2 separate regions of the Homo sapiens genome follow, and region 2 is linked to region 1. Evidence: promoter capture Hi-C in 16 types of primary human blood cells and fetal thymus (Javierre and others, 2016). All regions are on one chromosome and are shown on one strand. The core of a region is centred on a gene start or on the middle of the fragment in contact, and the rest is flanking DNA. Distances in the headings are between cores, read along the strand shown. Region 1 holds the start of SLC25A38 (solute carrier family 25 member 38). Region 2 overlaps CSRNP1 (cysteine and serine rich nuclear protein 1).

Region 1 (3,368 bases), core at 336-2,835:
CTCAAAAGTAGGGATTCTTGTCTTATGGAATCAGTGCAGCGGGGGTGGGTGTCAGGGTGGAATTAGGTCTTCCTTTAAAAAGAAGTTTCAGTGCATAGTTATCAACATCACTACTGCACAAAGAAAAATAAGCCTTGCAGCTTAGAACAAAGGGTAGCAAAGTATTCAATCACCAGGCAGGTTTGTAATTTTGTTTCGTTTTGTTTTTTGAGATGGAGTCTCGCTCTGTCGCCCAGGCTGCAGTGCAGTGGCACGATCTCGGCCCACTGCAAGCTCCACTTCCTGGGTTCACGCCATTCTCCTGCTTCAGCCTCCCGAGTAGCTGGGACTACAGGCGCCTGCCACCACACCCGGCTATATTTTTAGCAGAGACGGGATTTCACCATGTTAGCCAGGATGGTCTCGATCTCCTGACCTCGTGATCGGCTCGCCTCGGCCTCCCAAAGTGCTGGGATTACAGGCGTGAGCCACCGCACCCGGCCTGTAATTTTTTTTTTTTTTTTAATGTTTATACTTTCCTTAATCCTTTCTGGGAATAACCTCCTCTGGGACCACTTTCCTTCCTGTTCTATGTACCTCAGAAGCACAGGAATGAAGCCTGAAAAAATATTATCTTGCTCCCTAAGTCACTTTCCTTTCTGATCTAGTTCTTGGGTGATGAATGAAGGTGGAAAGTAGCGAAGGTTGCTATGAAAAGCTTGGACTTTATTACCAGGGCCACTGCATTTTCAACAGGAGTGTCAGGATCCCAGCAGTAATGCTTTTCCATGGATCAGCCAGACAGGCATAAGGGGAAGTTGGGAGACCAAAAAAGCCATTGACAGATTCCAGGTGAGCAATAAACCAGAATTTTGACCAACTAGACCAGCGCTGTCCTACAGAAATGTAATGGGAGCCACATGTTAAAGTTTAAATGTTTTACTAGCCACATTTAAAAAGAAACACATGAAGTTATTATTATTTGTTTTAGAGACGGGGTCTTGCTTTGTCGTCCACGCTGGTCTCCAACTCCTTGGCTCCCTCAAGCAATCCTCCAGACTAGGCCTCACAAAGTGCTGAGATTACAGGCCTGGGCCACTGCCCCCGGCCTGAAGTTAATTTTAATATTTCACCTAACCCAATATATCCAAAATATCATTTCAACATATAAAAATTATTGAGATTTTACCTCACCAGTCTTAGACATCCAGCGTGTGGTTTATGCATACAGTACATATCAATTCCACACTAAATTTTCAGCATTTAAAGGGAAATATGGTCCTGAAAAAAAAACAACAAAACAAAAAAACGCCTGTTTAAGGAGAAAGCATTCCACACTGCTTGTTTTAATATAATTAAAATTAATGTATCAATTAATAAATCAATAGCCCACGTTGGCTAGTGGCTGCCTTACTGGGCAGACCAGGTCTGGATTGTAAATACGTTCAGACGTTCCACGCAAAAGCAAAGTTCCCTGCAGACGCTCCATTAAGTTCTGGGTGCAAGGAAGCGCGGATCCTTCAGTTCTGGGCGTTTTCACCAGGTGGCACTCAGAACACCCTCACGTGACAAGCGTCCCACCCGGAAGCGAAATCTCCCCTTCTACAGAGTTCCTCCGGCGCTTCCTCCACCCCGGGATACACAGAACCTCATCTCCTACGGTGCTGAAGCCTGCAGCAGGGCAGGATGGGCAGGAGAGCAGAGCCGCGGAGTCTGCGGCGCGGGTGAAGAGCGGCGCGTAATTCCCGCAGCAAGATTGTTCCGCGCCCGCAGCCCCTGGACTAGCAGGATCCGAACCCCGGCGGCTGCGTGCTTATAGGCGCAGACGTCAGAGAGCCCGCGGCTTAAAGCGCGTCGCCTGGCTAGCGCCACCCCCTAGCCTTCTTCAAGGCCTCCAGGGCTGGGCCCAAGCGCCCGTCGACGGCACCCTGGGCCCAGAGGACTCGCGGGCCTCATCTCCAATGATTCAGAACTCACGTCCGTCGCTGCTGCAACCCCAAGATGTCGGAGACACGGTGGAAACGCTTATGGTGAGGGCACTGCGGGGAAGGAAGGGCAGGGGTCCGAACCGCGGGCTCGGGCCGGAGAATTCGGGGCGTTGCTAAGGCTCGGCTACCCTTTTCCGCGCCCCAGGGTGCGCTCAGGATTTAGGATGCGGCGGGAGAGGAGTCTGACTAAGGGAATTGAGAAGGGGGCAGGGAGTGAGGAGAGGCCAGGAGCTGCAGGCCAGCCCTGGGGGCAGGCGCTGTAGGGCCGATGTCCCGGTAAAGGGCGGAATTGCCGGGGCCTGGACTGGACGCGTGCCGGGGAGTGTGCCCGCGCGGCCCCCACAAGGTGCGAGTAGGCTGCCAGGTGGAAGGGCACCCGGGCAGATTTGGGACGGTCACAAGGCCTGATAATAGCGCTGACGCTGAGAAGCCGTTGATGCCGCAGCGAGCTGGCCGGGTAGCGCTGTGCGCCCGCGGGCGGCGGCCTACCTGGAGGGGCCAGTCGTGGCGGCACCCTTCCAGCCTGTTGGGACGGCGCGTGGTCCCCCAGCGACGCCACGCCTCCTCCGGCGTTCGATTGGTCATCGTGCCCGGGCCGCCGGGCCGCTATTGGTGGAGGCGGAGGCGGGGCTGGCGGCGTGGTTGCCCGGTAGGTGGAGTCGGGGTGCAACCAGTCTTTAGACGCTAAAGGCCTGAGGCCACTGCAGCTGCCGCAGCTCTCCCTCTGAGGTCTTGCGCCCGAGGTAGGGGCGGCTTTTATTTTTTTTTTTAATCCTTAAAGGCGGAGACGGCGGCGGTGGCGACTTTACGTTGACGTCTTTGAAAACCTGCTTACCTTTTTCAGGGCTCTCCAGCCCTCGCCTCCAGATGTGAATTGGACTTAGGATAGTTTTTTCAGGGCAGTAGGAATTGCTTGTGGATCCAGTTTGTACTCTTATGTGCTACTTATTTCGTGTGCGTATTATTGTTTATGCCCTCTTCTTTCTCCCCTTAAAAAGAAACTACTTTTTTATTTACCTTGAATATATTTTTGAGCTTTCTTTTCTTTTTTCTTTTTTTTTTTTTTTGAGACAGAGTCTCGCCCTGTCGCCCGCGCTGGAGTGCAGTGGCGTGATCTCGGCTCAACTGCAACCTCTGACTCCCGGGTTCAAGTATTTTTCCTGTCTCAGTCTCCCACGTTGCTGGGATTACAGGCGTGCGCCACCACGCCCGGCTAGTTTTTGTATTTTTAGTAGAGAGAGGGTTTCACCATGTTGGCCAGGCTGGTCTTGAACTCCTGACCTCAAGTGATCCGTCTGCCTCGGCCTCCTAAAGTGCTAGGATTACAAGTGTGAGCCACCGCGCTTGGCCTTGAGCTACTTTTTAAAAGTTAAGTTCACTCGCAAAGGATGTGTGCCATTC
Region 2 (3,368 bases), core at 382-2,881, 240 kb before region 1:
CTAGATTGTCTTCATTTATCTAAAAACAGAGAAACAAAAACTAAGAACCCTGTGGCCCTAGATGGGAGTAGGCAGGCCTCAGTCCAGCCATGGGCTGAGTCCATGTGGTGGAAGCCTGTTGGGACTTCCTGCCAGAGTACTGGAGCTGAGGGCTGCCACCCAGACCACCAGGCCAATCAGAGTGACCCTGGGAACCCTTGAAGAACCCAGGTTTTGGATTGTGCTTGCTGAAGTAATCGCTACAGAAGGGTGTCTAGGCACCAGTGAAGAAGAGACAGGACAACTCAATGTACCAGGGTACTCTAACCTGAGAAGCCTATTCCTAGTTAAGCTGGTTACAGGGACATACTGCCGCACCATAGGCCAGACTCCAAACTATGAGTCCTCTAATGGCACTGATATGGCCATGTGGTCATGACCATGCATGTCCAGAGGCAAGAGACAGATACCTGAAGGGTGACAGGACAGGCAAAAAAAGGATTAAACATTCAGAGAAAGAATGGCAGAAACATGAAAATCAATGCAAGTTGCAAACATACACAGGACTTGCATGTTCCAGGCACTCTTTAAGGGCTTTGTAAATATGAAATAAACAAGTTTATGAGGTGAGTAGTGTTACTGTTTGCATGTAGTATTGAGGACACCCAGGCACAGAGGGAGTAATTTGCACAAATCACCTCACTAGGTAGCAGAAAATCTGAGATTCAAGCCCAGCATTCTGGCTCTGTGCTCTTACCAGTTAAGCCAAAGAGATGAGTGAGCCCAGTACAGACCAAGGCAGAGAATTAGAGCAAGGAGACCCAAATCAGTTCTCCTCTGGCGGTTCCTCCTTCCAGCTCTTGTACAAATCACTATCATTCCTAAGGGGGAAGTCAACCTTTCTCAGGCCCCCAGACTGGGGCTCCCCAGAGCAGGGTGTGGCCTACTCCTCTGGCCTGCTGCCCAGCTGAGCTGCCAGGGACAGGTCAGACAGGTCTGGCTGGTGCAGAGGGATGAGGTTCTGCAGCTTCCCCCTGCCCTTTCCGCTGCCCCCCTGCTCAAGTCCCCAGGGACCACAGCTGCTACGTAAGGCCATCACCAGGCCTTGACCAGGCACATGCCCTTACCCTGCCTCCACCCAGGTTGGTGAATTCACCCTCAGGACAAGGCCTCAGCTCAGTGTGGGTGTGTAGGAAGAAGGGTGCCCTTACCCATCCCCAGCAGATAGCCCCATGTCAGAAGACCCTGGTGCTGCTCCTCCCCACCACCCCAGGTCACCACTGTAGAGGAACAGGTTACTCCAAAGGAAAAACTGCTCTATCTGCCTGGCCAGCCTCTCAGCTGGCTTCCTGCCTCCAACTTGACTGGCTTGCCTGGAAAGAGGCCCAATATGCTGGGTGTGCCTACTCCTACCCCTCAACACAGCCTGTGTCCATACTCCCCTCTGCAGGGCTTGTCCCCCATCCCCTTTGCCCCTGCTTCCCACCCCACAAATACATACCACATTGCTAAAAATAAAGCCTCTTTATTGGTACCTGTAAGCTCAGGTACAAGGTGTTCCCACAAGCACACAGGCTGGCAAGGCCTCCTGGGCAAGGGGCAGGCCCAGAGCCTGCGTTTCTTGGCACAGACACAGAGAGAAATGGAATAAATTATAGTTCTGACACTCAGGGACAATGTAGAAATTATGATGCAAAATTAAACATTAGCAAACAAAGGGTATAAAAACCCTCAGGAGCCACCCCTCGCCAACTGGCCTCAGGGCATGGGCAGGTGGGCCACGCTGAAGTGCAGTGCCCAGAAAGCCCTGAGATAATAGTCTGGGGCATGGTTCGCGCCCCGAGGTAGGCCCTTTGCCCTCTCTGGGCTTCCTGTTTCCTCCTTCCCCCTCCTACATCCCTGGGCCTGGAATAAAGGCTGTGGCCTTTGGGAAGGGGGAAGATGGAACAGAGGGCAGGAAGTGGAGGGGGCAGGGTGGGGCAGAAGGGAGTTTTGGTCACAGCTGTTCAGCCCAGGCTCTCCCCCTGCCTAGATGATGTCCTTGGCCAGCACCTGCCCACAGAGCCATCTAGGAGCCAGGCAGCAGACATAGATCACAGAGCTCAAATCCACACCTAGTCTGCACCAAAGCCCAGGCAGGGCAAGGTGTAGGACTACAAGGCAAAAGGGGCTCTTGAGGGCCTGTGCCCACCCCACCCCTGGCATTACCCACCAGCCAAAGAAGTGCAACCAAAGCCTCCTCAATCTCCAAATAAATTATGGAAATAAATTATAGTCTTCACAGTCCAGTGGATTTAGCCACCCATGGGTCTAGGGCTCAGGGTGGCAGAAGCCACCTGATTTCAGCCCTGTCTCACCGTCTTTGGGCTAAGGAACATCACGCAAAGACCGAAAAGTGGTCTGCCAAGCTCCAGAGGAGCCACATTTTCTCCTCTTCCAGGCTCACGTTGTGGAGATAGAAGAGCAAGCTGTGGGTGTGGGGGGCCGGGCAGCTGAAAGGGGAAGCCCCCTCCCCCCAGTCCTCTCTTCAGCACAGAAAAGTTAAAACAAATAAATAAATCCAGAGAATTGTTTGAAAACCAGGAGTGTGCACATGGCACCTGTGGGTGAGCCAGCCAGTGGGAGACTGTTACGCAGACTCTGGGGAGCCCCATAATTACAAGAAAGCAGCAACAGGTCTCTTGGGGCTGGGAAAAGACATCCTGGTCCTCACACCGGCACAGGCTCCATTAGAGATGCTGGGACAGTGTCCTCAAACTGGCTGTCAATAAAGGGATCTAGGGCTTCGGCGGCTGGCTCGGAGAAGCCCATGAGGGACTCCAGGAAGCAACTGCTGGCATCCCCAGGTGGAGACAGGCCAGGCAGGGGGAAGTGAGGTGCCTCGATGTTGTCCAGGCTGTCAGACACCTTCTGTGATGTGTAGTGAGGCCCCAGACTATAATCTGGCAGAGCCTGGAGTAACTCAAAGGAGTCACAAGAAGACAAGCTGAGATCCACTGAGCTACTCCGGCCAGCGTCCATGCTGGGTGGCACTGAGGTGCCAGGAAGGCTGCCTTCCCTTGACCCTTCAAGGCCACCATTTAGGAAGCAGCTGGCATCCAGGTTGGCATTCTCATCCAGGACGCCTGATGTGAAGCTACAGCCAGAATAGCTGTGGGTCCAGCTGGCCAGGCCACCAGGGTCACTAGTACCAAAGATGTCAGCTGGATGGAAGCAGCTGAGGTTGTCCAGGTTCCCCACGCTCCCTTCCTCCTCTTCCTCCTCCTCCCCACCGAAGTCAGAGTCACTGAAACTCAAGATGCGTGCCAGGCTGTCATCATCAACGCCAGGCTGGAAGCCAGGGCCAGGCAGGCCTGGGTGGGTGGGGCAGTCAGGAGCCTCACTAGTGC

Evidence for each region. The method cuts DNA at HindIII sites, captures the fragments that hold promoters and counts their contacts. A CHiCAGO score of 5 or more calls a contact.
Region 2: a fragment that was not itself captured here is called in contact with the fragment with the promoter of SLC25A38 in region 1 in 2 of 17 cell types (fetal thymus and naive CD8 T cells); the score reaches 7.3 in fetal thymus.

What each region holds. Positions count from the first base shown.
Region 1 is chr3:39,381,785-39,385,152 of GRCh38, forward strand. It overlaps SLC25A38 (solute carrier family 25 member 38), which reads left to right and starts at 1,586. Exons shown (of 7, transcript NM_017875.4): 1 at 1,586-2,009. The coding sequence starts at 1,941. LOC105377644 (a long non-coding RNA gene) reads right to left here and starts at 2,541. Exons shown (of 3, transcript XR_007096252.1): 1 at 2,457-2,541; 2 at 1,169-1,260. RefSeq lists enhancers at 1,895-2,074, 2,095-2,194, 2,205-2,254, 2,725-2,794 and a silencer at 2,485-2,634. The HindIII fragment of the contact is 12,754 bases long and covers 696-3,368 here.
Region 2 is chr3:39,140,367-39,143,734 of GRCh38, forward strand. CSRNP1 (cysteine and serine rich nuclear protein 1) reads right to left here. Exons shown (of 5, transcript NM_033027.4): 5 at 1,489-3,368. The coding sequence ends at 2,689. Among named protein-coding and RNA genes, the nearest start is that of MIR6822, 3.8 kb to the left of the region's middle. The HindIII fragment of the contact is 8,062 bases long and covers 1-3,368 here.